Linked DNA regions of Homo sapiens: regions 1 and 2 are each linked to region 3. The links are contacts of gene promoters, found by promoter capture Hi-C in human tissues and cell types (Jung and others, 2019). All regions are on one chromosome and are shown on one strand. The core of a region is centred on a gene start or on the middle of the fragment in contact, and the rest is flanking DNA. Distances in the headings are between cores, read along the strand shown.

Evidence for each region. Contacts are between HindIII fragments. The study calls those that stand out against the background at their distance.
Region 1: a fragment that was not itself captured here is called in contact with the fragment with the promoter of DNAH10OS in region 3 in 1 of the 25 tissues and cell types used here (dorsolateral prefrontal cortex).
Region 2: a fragment that was not itself captured here is called in contact with the fragment with the promoter of DNAH10OS in region 3 in 3 of the 25 tissues and cell types used here (dorsolateral prefrontal cortex, pancreas and spleen).

Annotation. Positions count from the first base shown.
Region 1 is chr12:123,224,248-123,229,104 of GRCh38, reverse strand. It overlaps MPHOSPH9 (M-phase phosphoprotein 9), which reads left to right. Exons shown (of 24, transcript NM_022782.4): 3 at 1,489-1,642. Among named protein-coding and RNA genes, the nearest start is that of MPHOSPH9, 6.5 kb to the left of the region's middle. The HindIII fragment of the contact is 6,998 bases long and covers 1-4,857 here.
Region 2 is chr12:124,498,643-124,503,429 of GRCh38, reverse strand. The region is part of intron 2 of NCOR2 (nuclear receptor corepressor 2); the gene reads left to right. Among named protein-coding and RNA genes, the nearest start is that of NCOR2, 67 kb to the left of the region's middle. The HindIII fragment of the contact is 6,725 bases long and covers 1-4,787 here.
Region 3 is chr12:123,933,665-123,938,036 of GRCh38, reverse strand. It overlaps DNAH10OS (dynein axonemal heavy chain 10 opposite strand), which reads left to right and starts at 3,053. Exons shown (of 2, transcript NR_187476.1): 1 at 3,053-3,972. It overlaps DNAH10 (dynein axonemal heavy chain 10), which reads right to left. Exons shown (of 79, transcript NM_001372106.1): 78 at 3,271-3,416; 79 at 2,323-2,702. The coding sequence ends at 2,556. It overlaps CCDC92 (coiled-coil domain containing 92), which reads left to right. Exons shown (of 5, transcript NM_025140.3): 5 at 207-2,411. The coding sequence ends at 979. The HindIII fragment of the contact is 2,982 bases long and covers 1,116-4,097 here.

The sequences.
Region 1 (4,857 bases), core at 745-3,244, 710 kb after region 3:
TCTGCCCTTTTCAGGAGGAATTTAAGGCAGCTTACATGGGTATATAAAACAATGGGGGTGGGGAGTTGTAAAAAACAAAGGAATATGTGAAATAAAACGAGAAAAGGAAATTTTAAAAGGCACAGGAAATGGTCCTACAGTAATCTGTATGCACTTGCAGAAAGTTGGCCACGCATTTTGGTTCTTGTATTACTTGGTGGTCCCTTTAAAGTACACTTCTAGAAGATATTCCTGTTAGAACAGTGTTTGATTTGGCTGGAGGAAGCTAACTGTGCCTTGCTAGTGAAAATTAGGCAATTAAACTTGTCTTCCTTTTCATTGTGACTGGCAGTTAAATTGGCCACATTTAAACTTGATTATTACAGCTATGTAAAATCCTTTACTGATAACATATATTCTTTCCTTTGAATTTTTTTTTTTGACGGAGTCTTGCTCTGTCACTAGGCTGGGGTGCAGTGGTGCCATCTCAGCTCATTGCGATCTCCGTGTCCTGGGTTCAAGGGATTCCCCTGCCTCAGCCTCCTGATTGGCTGGGACTACAGGCACGCACTACCACACCCGGCTAATTTTTTGTATTTTAGTAGAGATGGTGTTTCACCATGTTGGCCAGGACAGTCTTGATCTCCTGACCTGGTGATCCGCCCGCCTTGGCCTCCCAAAGTGCTGGGATTACAGGCGTGAGCCACTGCGCCTGGCCTCCTTTGAATTTTTAGTAATATTTTCACTGGTCCTAACTATTATTTTATTGTTATTTTTATTTATTTTTTTAAACAAATTATTTGTGAAAGAAAGCAGGATATCAAGCAGTAAATAAATTAAAATGATCTTTTGGTGACTAGATTTTAAGTACATTTTAATGTCCTGAAATATATTGTGTGTTTATAAAACAAATCCGAAATAACTTACCTGAAGTTTGGAAAAGCAGTACTCCTGGAAAAACTCAGTGCTGTTTTACACACTGAGTAGGCTAAATAAGTCCTGAATATTTGCTGCTGATTTGCTTGGCACAACTTTTATGCAGAGATAGTGCAGAGATAAGCATCAGCTTATCGTACCAAATTAAGGGTGTCCAGTGAACAAGATTTGACTGTCATTTGGGGCAGTGGGGAAAGAATCCCCACTGCACAATGAAGGGCTGTTCTGAAAGTTGGGGGAAATAATCCTCTGGAATAGCTGAGATCAGAGAAGCTGGAAATTAATCTTATTGTTTAGCACAGACTTTTTCTATTTTCTGCCGATCCTTTGGAGTGTTCTCTCACTTCTGGAGAAGGTCTTCTTGTTGTGTTCTTAAAAAGAGTACAGTGCGGTCTTTTTACTGGCCGTTTCCTTTTGTGGAGCAACTTGTGATCAGATTTTGAACAAATGAGGTGCCATTAGAAGGATTAAATGTCAGTGGTTTTGTACTGCTCTGCTAAATCTTGAACTGCTGAATTATTCAACACTTTGATAGAATGAAGAAAACCATTTGAATTATTTATGTTTCAACAGAAGTAGTCCCCACCTTAGTACAAATGGGGTATCCTCTTTCTCAGGGAAGACCAGACCATCTGTAATTCAAGGTACAGTTGAAGTCCTAACTTCTTTAATGCAAGAGCTACAAAACAGTGGAAAGACTGATTCGGAACTTTGGAAAAACTGTGAGGTATCTAATTTTGTTTTATTTTTGGAATTTTAAAATAATTATGTTAAAACATACCTCTACTAAACTCTAAATTATTAGAAATTTATGTCCTGAAGAGCATGACACTTTTAAGTTAATGCTAAAGTGGTCAAGTATATTAATTTGGGAATGATATTGAATGAATGGGAAAAAGGTGATCAAAAGTATTTTTTAACAATATATTACTGATTAGACATACTAATTTGTATATTAAATATGAACTAAAACATTGTCTTGGTTCAGAGACCTGAGAATCCCAAAATTATTAAAATTGTTACTAATTGTAATGTTGTCAGTAACTTATATGGAATTGTCATCATTTTGAAAAACCTAAATCCACTTTGAAATATTTTCAATGTTCTAATTATAAATTGAAGCTTCTATTTAGTACCTTACCATATTCAGCTGTGATACATTGCATTATATTGTTTTCAGATCAGTGGTTCTTTCTTTGGTTCATAGGTTAAATTGTGATATAAAAATGTAACAGTTAAAAGAATACTTACATGGCCGAGCACAGTGGCTCACGCCTGTAATCCCAGCACTTTAGGCGGCCAAGGTGGGAGGTTTGGTTGAGGCCAGGAGTTTGAGACTAGCCTGGGCAAGATAGCGAGACCCTGTCTCTACAAATATAAATACATAAATAAATTAGCTGGTCATGGTGGCACGGTGTCTGTAGTCCTAGCTACTTGGGAGGCTGATGTGGGAGGATCACTTCAACCCAGGAAGTCAGGGTTGCAGTGAGCTATGATCACAGCACTACACTCCAGCCTGGGTGACAGACTGAGACCCTGTCTCTCTCTATATATAAAAAAAGAGAACCTGTAATCCCAGCACTTGAGGCAGAGGTGGATAGCTTGTGCCCAGAGTTTGTGACCTGCTTGGGCAACATAGCAAGACCCCCTCAGTAAAAAAAAAAAAAAGTATATATAAATTTTATTTCATAGGATAATGCTCAAGATAGACTTTCCTAAGGCTGGATTTGATAGTTTTTTATAGAAATGTTTAAACCATTATTAATTCTTAGAAAGCACTAGATCTTGTTTTAAACGTTAATTGTACTTTTAGAAGCATAATTTGTGTTATTTTTCAGAATGTAGAGTAAGCGAAATGAAAGATTACCTGGTTTAAGAATTCGATAGCAGCAACTGCTAAGTGTAATTATTTATATCCATTATCCATAATTATTGAAATTATAAAAAAGTATTATTATATGCTTAAAAAATTGAGTTTTCAGTTTTTATACTTTATGCTTGTTTGCATATAATAATCAGTATGCACTAACGTGAAAGACCTTTAAAAATGCCCATGCAAATGCAATTAAAAATGGAATGTTTTATTAAGTATATTAAATGCTTCCCTTAATGTATCTACTCATAAGCTTTTTGTTTATTTGTTTGTTTGTTTTTGAGACAGAGTCTTGCTCTGTTGCCCAGGCTGGAGTGCTATGGTGCGATCTCGGCTCACTGCCACCACTGCCTCCCAGGTTCAAGTGATTCTCCTGCCTCAGTCTCCCGAGTAGCTGAGATCACAGGCGAGCGCCACCATGCCCAGCTAATTCTTGTATTTTTAGTAGAGAAGGGGTTTAGCCATGTTGGCCAGGCTGGTCTCGAACTCCTGACCTCAGGTAATCTGCCTGATTTGGCTTCCCAAAGTGCTGGGATTACAGGCATGAGCCACCGTGGCTAGCCCTTATTAGCTTTTGATAACTGAATTAACATGCTTTAGGACAAAGGAGGCATTGCCACAATGTATTTTAACTTCTGGAAAATTTGTGTTTAACTAGAAATTGTTACTTTTGATAATTAGAAATCAACCTTTTTTTTTTGACATTAGCATCTTAAGTCAGAATCAGAATATATTCCCTGCCCCACCTCTCCTCTCCCCTCCCTCCCACCCCCTCCCTCCCTCCCTTCCTTTCTTCCTTCCTTCCTTTTCTTTGTTTCTTTTTCTCCTCTTTCATTCTCTCTCTTTTCTTTCTTTCTTTTTTTTTTTTTTTTTGAAATAGGGTCTCATTCTGTCATCCAGGCTGGAGTACAGTGGCACAATCTCTGTTCACTGTACCTTCAACCTCTTGGGCTCAAGCCATCCTCCCACCTCAGCTTCCCAAGTAGCTGGGACTACAGGTGCACACCACCATGCCCAGCTAATTTTTGCATTTTTTGTTGAGACAAGGTTTTGCTATGTTGCCCAGGTTAGTCTTGAACTCATGAACTCAAATGATCCACCCACCTTGGCCTCCCAAACTGCTAGAATTACAGGCATGAGCCGCTGTGCCCAGCCTCTGAGCTCTGTTTTTATAACAGCTTTCAAAATAACATCAATTTATATTATCCTGAAATGAAATTCATAGGTAATATAACCTACCTTTACCCGCTTTAAAAAATCAATATACTATCCTAAATGTGACATAAAGGAGAAATAAAAAATTTACAGTAAAATAACATGTATTTGGATATATCCATGTCAGGCACATGTTCATTAGAAGACATAATGAAGTAGTCATGTTTACCTGTATGTACTCACTGTGAATTCAGCAGCTGAACACAGATCAATATAGCTATGGTGTGTTGATGATCCAGGTATTGTGTACAGCACCTCCACTGGTGACATGCTTTTCTGAAAGGGTGACCAACTTCTCATGAGATTTTGAAACTTAAGTTTGTTTTGATGTTATGAATACTGTGCGAAATATTTATTGTTTTATAACATAAAATGGACACAGGACAATTCTTCATCATGGGGGACTGCCCTATGATCCGCATGCCTGGACCCTGCCCACTAAATGCCAGTGATGTCCCCCCAGCTTTGTCATGACCGTGACCTCACAGATTTCCAACATGGAGTTCCTTCCCCATTGAGATCACTGCATCATATTTAAATTTAAAACTTAGGCCTGTAATCCCAGCACTTTGGGAGACCGAGGCGGGTGGATCACTTGAGGTCAGGAGTTCGAGAACAGCCTGGCCAACATGGTGAAACCATGTCTCTACTAAAAAATATGAAAATTCGGCTGGGTGCAGTGGCTCACGCCTGTAATCCCAGCACTTTGGGAGGCCGAGGCAGGCGGATCATGAGGTCAGGAGATTGAGACCATCCTGGCTAACATGGTGAAACCCCGTCTCCACTAAAAATACAAAAAAATTAGCCGGGTGTGGTGGCGGGTGCCTGTAGTCCCAGCTACTTGGGGGCTGAGG
Region 2 (4,787 bases), core at 492-2,991, 570 kb before region 3:
TGCATTCATCCATCCATCCTCCTTTCCTCCCTCCCTTCCTCCTTTCTCCTCCATCCTCCCATCTCTATCCCTCTTCCATCTTCTCCCTCCATCCAGCCACCCCCTGCTGAGCACCTGGGTGGGGAGTCTGCCAGTTGGGCCAGACCTGTCACTGGGTGTGGGCCGTGGTCAGCAGGGCCTTTTGCCTTTTGTCTGACTTGGTCACTGCTGTAGCTGTGCTTGTACAGTGTTTGCACATAACAGATGCTGAAATAATTCTCTAATTGATGAGAATGGGTCAGCAACCGGAGTTTGGGATGGGTTTGGCTTGCCTGGTCTCAGCTGGAGGGCAGACCGCACCCTTGTGGGTGGCACCCGGGATTGAGCTCTTAGTATTTGACCCTCAGCCCCTCCGGCAGAGCCAACGACAGGCTGGGGTTGGGTACCTGGCTCTTCCTTAGGGAGTGGAATGACCTTTCTGCCAAGTGAGGGCCAAGGAGTCTGGCCTCATTCCTGCAGGCCTGCCGCTGTGCATGGGTGGAGGCCCGTTTCTCTAGGGCCCTGACAATCGTGGCTGTCATCATTCAGGGTTACAGGGGCCCTTTTACCTGTGCCCCACACTCAGACACCTGTGCCCAGTGCTCCTCGACACAGGGGCAGCTACAGTGTCCTTTGAACACAGAGACGCCAGAGGCAGACTTGCCACAGGAGACCGCACGTCAGCCTTGTTTAAAGTGCACCAGCTGTGTCCTTCCTAGCTCCCTTGCAGTGAACACCCCAGCTTTCTGGCTATAGCCAGAAAGAGTGACCTCACATGCCTTCGCTCACCCCACTCTCCCCATCCAGGCCTCCCTGCTGTCCTCACACACCAGGCTCGGTCCTGCCTCTGGGCCTTTGCACCTGCTGTGCCTGCTGTGTAGACTCCCTCCTCTCCCCGGCGCCTTTGCATAAAAGGCACCTCTGGTGACGCACCCCTGACTGCCCACTTTCAAAATGTACCCCCATTCCCTGCCTGCCGCCTCCTGGTTCTGTTTTTCTCCATCGTGCTAACACCTTCTGCCATCCTCTTACTCCCGTCTCACCTGCTGGAATGGCAGCTTCACGAGGTGGGGGATTTGGGATCAGTAATTCACTGCTGTATCCCCAGCACCTTTCACACAGTAGGTGCTTAACAAATCGTGGTAGACAGAGTGAGCCACCAGGCCGGGCAGCAGGAGCTCTCTCTTCACCCCCTTCCTCATTGGCTGTGGGGGCCCCTCTGGACTGGGCTGGGCGAGGTGCACCCTTGCCACGTCCCACCGGCTTTCCGCATCTCAGGACTCACTCCAGAGCTGGATTCCTGAGCATCCGTTCTGCGCCAGGAGTCCTGCTGAAGGTGGCCATCAGATACTTGGCCAGTTCCCCAGTTTTTACTGCACGCCAGAAAGTAAACACCCAAGGTGTCAACAGCTCGACCCGTGGAGCTGGCGCTCCGCAGCGTCTTGTGCGCACATCCCAGAACTGCTGTCCCAGAGTTCCCCCCGGGCCGGCTTCTCCTCGGGCCAGACTGGCTGCAGTGGTTTTGTTTAGTAAATATTTATTAGATGCCTACTGTGTGCTGGGCTCTGGGGATACAGCAGTGAACAAAACAAGTATTTCTGGAGCACCTCCTGAAGTAGGTAGTGTTCTCCCTTAAGGTACGTCTGCGTGGAACCTGGGAGTGCGGCCTTGTTTGGAAAGGGTTTTTGCAGATCACATTAGTTAAGATGAGGTCACAACCGGATAGGGGAGGGCCCCAAATCCAATATGACGGGTGCCCTTAGAAGAAGGGGAGACACAGAGACAGGAGATGCAGTGGAAAGGCTGCGTGGAGATAGAGGCAGAGGATGGCACGATGCATCTACAAGCCAGGGAACACCGGGGGTTGCCGGGGCCACCAGAGCTGGAGGAGTGAGGAAGTAGGAAGGGCCTCCCCCAGAGCCCCCAGAGGCCGTGGGGCCCTGATGACAGCTGGATATGGACTCGAGGCCTCCAGAACAGTGAGACAATCCATTTCTGTTGCTTGAAGCCATGCAGTCTGTGGTGGGGCAGCCGAGGGCGCTAATACGCCTCGTGTGTGCCAGGTGCCGTGCCTCTCGGTGGCTGTCACACAATAGGTGCTTATTCCACAGTGAGTGGAACAAATACCTACTGAGCGGTGAGGGAGGCCGTATGTGGCTGAGCTGCAGGGCTCCTGGGGCCTGCCTGTCTTCGCAGGGCCAGGCTGGGACAGTGGAGGCACGGCCTGTGTTCCCGCCGTGGTTCCGCCCACCCCAGGGGGGCTTTGTGCCTTGGGCTTCTCAGAGTATCAGAGGGTTCTGTCGAGTGTGTGTGTGTGTGTGTGTGTGTGTGTGTGTGTGTGTGTGTGTGCGCGCGTGCGCGCGCGCTCGTGCCGTGGGCGCTCTCTGCCTGGCAGGTTGGTTTTTAATCCCGAGGCTCCCCCACCTGCCACAGGTTCTTCCAATGTCAGCACCCATTAGTTCCCAGAACATTTCAGGCACGTGCGGCGCAGAGCCCCGCGTGCCTTTCATCCTCCCCACAGCCCGCGGCTGAGCGCTCCGGGCACATCCTGTAGCTCCCACACCTCCACCAGCCCCCGCCTGCCCCTCACCCTGAGGCTGTAATTCCACCCTCCCCAGGTCTGAACCAGGCCGCTCAAGACACAGAAAATCTATGGAATGTGTCTCGGTGTGGCCTCATCCTGCCGGAGCTGGAGAGGAATGCAGGGGTGGGAGGCCCCATGGAAGCTTCCAGGGCCTCCCGGAAAGGCGCCTCTGCCCGGCCAGGTGGGAAGAGGACACAGGTGTGGTGGTTTCTGGCATCACTGCGTTGCTGGCATGCACCTCCGCTGGGCAGAGTCATTCAGTGTGCACCTACTGTGTGCCAGGCACCAGAAGGGGCTCTGGGTCCAGCAGGAGGCAAGGCGGACAGCCAGTCAGAGCTCACGGCCTGAGCTTTCCGCTGTGGATTTGGAAACCTTACCAAAGCCCGCAGTGGCCGGGAACAGGGAATGTGGCCCACTTGGCTTCTGCTGCTGCCTGGCAGAGTGCAGTGGGGGCGGGGGGCACTTGTGTGTTTGCTACCTCCTGGCAGGCATGGCCCAGGGACAGACCCCTGCAGCCGTGCATGGGGAGCCCCTCCACCTGCCTGCGTGGGATCTGCAGCCCTCCTCCAGCTGGTTCAGGGGCCAGCAGGGGCCCTGGGGCTGTGGTTGGTGGCTTGGATGTGCAGAGGCCTGCTTGGGCCCTTGGTGTCCCCGTTGGGTATCCCGGCCACCTGAGATCTACAAGTCCCTTGACCTCACCCAGGCACCGTCTTGTTCTCCTCGGAGGCCTGACCCTCCTGACTCTGCATGGCTGAGCACCTGCTGTTCCCCAGGCACCTCTCGGTATGCCACAGGCACAGGGTCCTCGCAGCGGGCCTGTGCAGCGGGACTCCTGCAGCGAGCTGTTTCCTCGGCCTGCAGAGTCAGCCTCCCTCCTGACTTTCATCCACCTGCCCATTTCCCCTTCTCTGTCGCTGTTGCCCTGATCCCCCAGTGTCCCCTCTCTTGGACATTTGCAGGAGCCTCCCCAGGTCTCCCTGATCCACTCTTGCTGTCCCCAGTGCCTGCTCGTAAAACACTGACCCTTTACTCTCCCCCGCAACCACCTTCTGTGGCTCCCCACTGCCCTGAGAACAAAATCCATCCTTACCCGGGCCCATGGGGCCCTGAATGACTCTGTCCCCACTTCCCCCCATATTCACTCAATGAATTTCTCAAACATAAACGGCACCTGTGCTCACCCCCAGGCCCTCGCTCACCCCTGGGCCTGTGCTCACCGCCTGGCGGGGGCTCACCCCCAAGCCTGCGCTCACCCCCCACCAGCTGGCGCTCACCTCCCTGCTCTTGCTCAGCGGCGCCTCCAGCTGGAGCACTCTCCATCCCCTCGCCTTCACCCTCTGGAAGTTCTTCTTCCTCGTATCTCCTGGCTCTCCCCAGGGCTGGGCAGAGCCCCTGGCCTGAGACCCTCCAGGGCCTGGACCCCGCTGGGTTCACAAGAAGTCCCCAGCACTAGCCCGGGGCTCAGCAGGGACCACAGTGTGTATGTAAATAAATGAATGCCGCCCACCCTTTCTGACCCCACCGCAGCCAGACGCAGCGGCGACATGGGGCGTTTGTGTCTGAATTCCCCCTCCAGCCCGGATCCATCCTCAGAACCTCCTTTGGCCAGGACCAGATCCTGGAGACCCTGGAGGGGCTCCCTCGTCCTCTCCTGCCCCCATCTTTGAGGAAATGATGTCATCATTTTTTTTGGCATTCACTTCCAAACCTGCTGATGAAAAGTCAAAGCTTATTTTTTTCCCTATTCGCAGTGCTGCACACCCGCCTCCTCTATCAAGTTTCAAAACCTTTGCATCACTGCCCTGTAAAACCCTGTAACCATTAGCAGGCCTCATTCCTGCCTCACCCTGCCCTCCTGGTAGCCACCAGTCTCCTTTCTGCCTCGTGGATGTGCCTGTTCTGGACATTTCATATCCGTGGAGTCAGGCAGTTCGTGGCCTTTTGTGTCTGGCCTCTTTGGTTCAGCATGACATTTTCTGGTTATGTGTGGTGTAGGACACAGCCGTCCTTCGTTCCTCTTTATGGCTGAGTAATACTCCATCGTAGGGATGGACTGGAATTTTTGCTGGGTCTGCCTTTTGGCTGCTGTAAATTCTGTTGCCATGAACATGCATACCGTGTTTTGTTTGAGTCCCTGTTTCCAGTTCTTTTGGGTGGATGCCTGGGAATGGAATTGGTGGGTCAT
Region 3 (4,372 bases), core at 1,804-4,303:
GAGCCGGAAAGGGCCTCTGAGATGCCCCGATCTCCCCACCTCGGGGAGGGGAGGGGTCTTTCCAGAGCCCCCACAGCCCTGCCTTCTGCATGGCCCCCACAGCCTAGACAGGGCCCCCACCAGACAGGTCCGCCTGCCCCATAGGCCTCACCACTCGGCCTCAGTCTAATGAGTTCTTCACCTGCTTCCTCGGCTTATTCTTGTAGGAGACGGGACTTCTAAAAGCAGTGAATTAAAGAAAAGATGTGAAGAGCTGGAAGCCCAACTGAAAGTGAAAGAGAACGAAAATGCTGAGTTGTTGAAAGAACTGGAGCAGAAAAACGCGATGATCACAGTGCTGGAGAACACCATCAAGGAGCGAGAGAAGAAGTACCTGGAGGAGCTGAAGGCCAAGAGTCACAAGCTGACCCTGCTGTCTAGCGAGCTGGAGCAGCGGGCCAGCACCATCGCCTACCTGACCTCCCAGCTGCACGCCGCCAAGAAGAAGCTCATGAGCTCCAGCGGGACCTCAGATGCCAGCCCGTCAGGGAGCCCCGTGCTGGCCAGCTACAAGCCAGCGCCCCCCAAAGACAAGCTACCCGAAACGCCTCGCCGCCGCATGAAAAAGAGCCTCTCAGCCCCCTTGCACCCGGAATTTGAAGAGGTCTACAGATTCGGGGCAGAGAGCAGGAAACTCCTTTTGCGGGAACCAGTGGATGCTATGCCCGACCCCACCCCATTTCTGCTGGCTAGGGAGTCCGCCGAGGTCCACCTCATCAAAGAGAGGCCCCTCGTCATCCCCCCCATCGCCTCCGACCGAAGCGGCGAGCAGCACAGCCCGGCCCGCGAAAAGCCGCACAAGGCCCACGTCGGGGTGGCACATCGGATCCACCACGCCACCCCGCCGCAGGCCCAGCCCGAGGTGAAGACCCTGGCGGTCGACCAGGTGAACGGAGGCAAGGTGGTGAGGAAGCACTCAGGGACGGACAGAACTGTGTGAAGCCCGCCGTGCCCCACCCCGCGCTGTCCATGCACTGTGAGCACCACTGGGAAATCTCAGCCACACCTTTTCTGTTTAATCCCATGCATGCCAAACACTTTTCACACCTACCGACCCATTCTCCTTCTGCTTCTCTTGCCCTCTTCTTCACACCAAAATATGATCGTGTCCCTGCCGCAGAATATGTATTTCCTAATTGCTGTGGCCAAACGCCTGTGTGCCGAATCGCTTGCTTCTGATCCCGCTCCGTGTAACCTAAGTGCGCTGCAGGCAAAGCCCAGGCCACGGCTGCGTCACTACTGATGTTCACGATGCCACACAGTCACACACCTAATTCATTCTCAAGTCGGAGCAACACATACCAACCTTGACCTTATCCTCAAGCTCCAGGGCAGCCTGGCCGAGCAGCCCCTGCTCCCTCCTGGAGACCCTTGTCACCTCCCGAGCTCCTCCTGGAGACCCCTGTCACCTCCTGACCAACCTTTCCCAGGGCGGCACCGATCACCGAGCAGCCGTGCGTGTATCTCAAGGAACTAAATAAGATGACGCTACTCCTCATAGCACCACAACCTGAATGTGTGTTCATATTTTTTTGTTAGTTTTATCCAAAATGTTTAAGATCCCAACAAACTTTATTTTCTAAACCTGCCTTCCTTCTGTTTTGTGTCTTTTATTAAACAAACACCTGAAGGAGGGCTAGGAGACTGCAGGAGGGAGAGCAATCACAGGTCCCAGAAGCGACTCCGGCCTCCTCCCGGCCCAGAGCTAGTCCTTAGAATGTGCTGCGCTCCTGAGCTTCTGTGGGAAGCTGCTTTTGCCTCTGATGGCCCCTGCCCACTGTGCTGCCCGTGCTAGCCCCTCTCCTCCCTCATGGAGTGAAGCCACCCCTCACCTCCAGGTGGCCAGCCAGGGCTCCAGGCCAGCCTCATGGTGCACAGAGGGAAGGGGTGCCCAGTGACCACTGGTCCTGGAGGTTCTGTGTCCTTACCTGACCCCACACAGACCCAGGCAGGCTGGGGGTAGAAGCTCATGCAGGAACTAAACACTAAGCTCAACAACTTCACAGTCGCCGTAGCAGGTCAGAGCCAAAGAAGCTAGGGCCAGAGAGTTCTGGAAGGGGGAGAAGTGGCTCCAGGTGACTGGTCACTTCTGCTCTGTGCCCGACATCATCAGCCCTTCTTGCCAAAAAGGAGCATCTGCTGAAACAGACCTGGATCATCGAAAACACACCTTTGGAAATTACATTAGGATTCTCACTTGTGCCAATGCTATGTATGCCAGGCACTTTTGCCTAATCAAGTGTTTTCTCTGAGAAGGAAAAGAAAACTCCACACATCTTAAAATACTCTCCAATATTTACTTTTTGATTATATAAATTCCTTTTAAAAAGTAGTATTAAAAACAAAACCATTCAGGTTAATTTGTATGGAAAGAGATTTAAGTGGCTGATTTCAAATGAAAAATCAGTGTCAGTCCCCCTCCTGCCTCTTGAGAGGCCCCAAGAAATGACAGCAGACCCGATCACTCTGACAACCCCAGGCTCCGAATTCATTAAGCAGTTTTCTTCACCCAAAGGTTAATCAGAATTCAGGGTGAGGCATACTCCTTGCAGCACCCAGTGAGAAATGTGCCTCGTGGTAAAGAGATCAGCTTCAAAAACCAAGCCGACTCCCATGGCGTTCCTTCTCATGGAGGTGGTGTAGACGGGGGTCCGGAAAGTATTCTGCAAGGGAAAGGCAGGTGAGATGCCCCCACGGAGAGAGGGTGCAGAGGGATAAAGGCAGAGGTGCAGTGTAAGTCTTGACAGGCAGGGGCCCCTGTGCAAGACTGCACCTGAGAACACGCACAAGGCTGGGGCTGCTCAGGGCCACCCTCCGCCAGCTTCACGGGGACCTGGCTTCACACTGACACCCTGGTTAAAAGTGGGTCCTGGCCCAGGCAGAGCAGAAGACATCTGCTGTCCACACCAGCGGGAACCACTTTATGACTCAGGCAATGTCTGCAGCATTTTGCAAGAAGGGAGGGAGTCTCCCCTTGGTTAGTCTAGACCACAGGATCACAGCTTGAGCCTGACACCTCTGGAAGGACCGGCATCCACACACACATACAGCCGCGCCTTTTCCAGGAAGCAGCTATCCGTAGCTTTTATCACGGCTCCAAGACTCTCCCCAGCCCATAAAGCTTAGGCACCCCTGTTTTAAAAAGTAGGACTGTTGGAAACCACCTCAGCCATAACTACAGTCAGAAGAGGAAGGGCCCTGGTGTCAGAGAGGAGGGGCTGGGACCTTCACCTGCAGCTTGAGGCGATGGGCTTCAATGGGGATGATCTTCAGGATCGGCAGGTCCACAACCAGCACCTTGGGTTTGCTCTTGATAAGACATCCTTTTTCTATATCCCAGTCAGCACCTTCCAGGTACAGTCCTGAGACAAAGCATCCTAGGGACACAAGGCAGAGACTGGATACAACTGGAGCATGCACAGCCTGCCACGGAGTGGCTCTATCAGGCGCACACACAGCGACACACAGGCCACTGGCTGGCCTCCTCCCCAGCGCATTGGGGACAGCCCAGGCCCTTCTCCAGCATTTCTGTCCTGCCCACCTTCCCTCTGTGGAGGAGCAGCCCAGACAGGAGACCCTGTGGCCCTGCCCCATGGCCCAGAGAAATGGGTGTGGGGCGGTGGCCTCTCCCCCAGGAATCCTCATTCCTGGGGCATCAAGGCCCACGGACTTAGACCACCCTGGGCCCCCAGGCTAGAAAGATGCATGGTCCCAGAGTCAGAATGGGCACCATGGCAACCCCAGCTACCCTGTGAGCCGAAGTGGCTGGGGAGCAGGAAGTCGAAGCCTCACAGAGAAAGTGGTCTCCGGGGAGGAGGACCCAGCAGATGTGCAAAGAGAGGAACACACTCCTGTGGCCCCAGAGAGAGTGGTGGCCCGGACACCTGCCACCTCCCCTGCCACTGAGACCTGGAGAGTCCCTGCATCTTTACCGTAAGTCCCCAGTCCTTAAGCCATCTCAAAAGAGCTTTTGTTCCTTGCAGTTAAAAGAACTCTAAGACAACATGGACCCGGGGAAACAGCAGTTTCCAGCTCTCATTTGCACAGTCAGTAACCAATGTCTAAGGGACCTGAAGTTCTGGCATAATCAAAGAGTTCCAACCAAGTTAGTCCATGCTGCTCTGTGGCTCCCATGCCCCTGGCCCCGTCAGGGGTTACAAGAAAGCCACCTGATGGTTTTTGCAAGAGCTAATTCTGACCTAGGAGCCCACTTGCCATGAGCTAGCAGAGTGAACATGGTTCAGGTCTCCCCTGCCATAGACCCCAGGTCTCAACGGAGAAAGTGGAAGAGAAACTTCCGTATCCACCCTCAGAGGTGTTAAGACATGGGCAG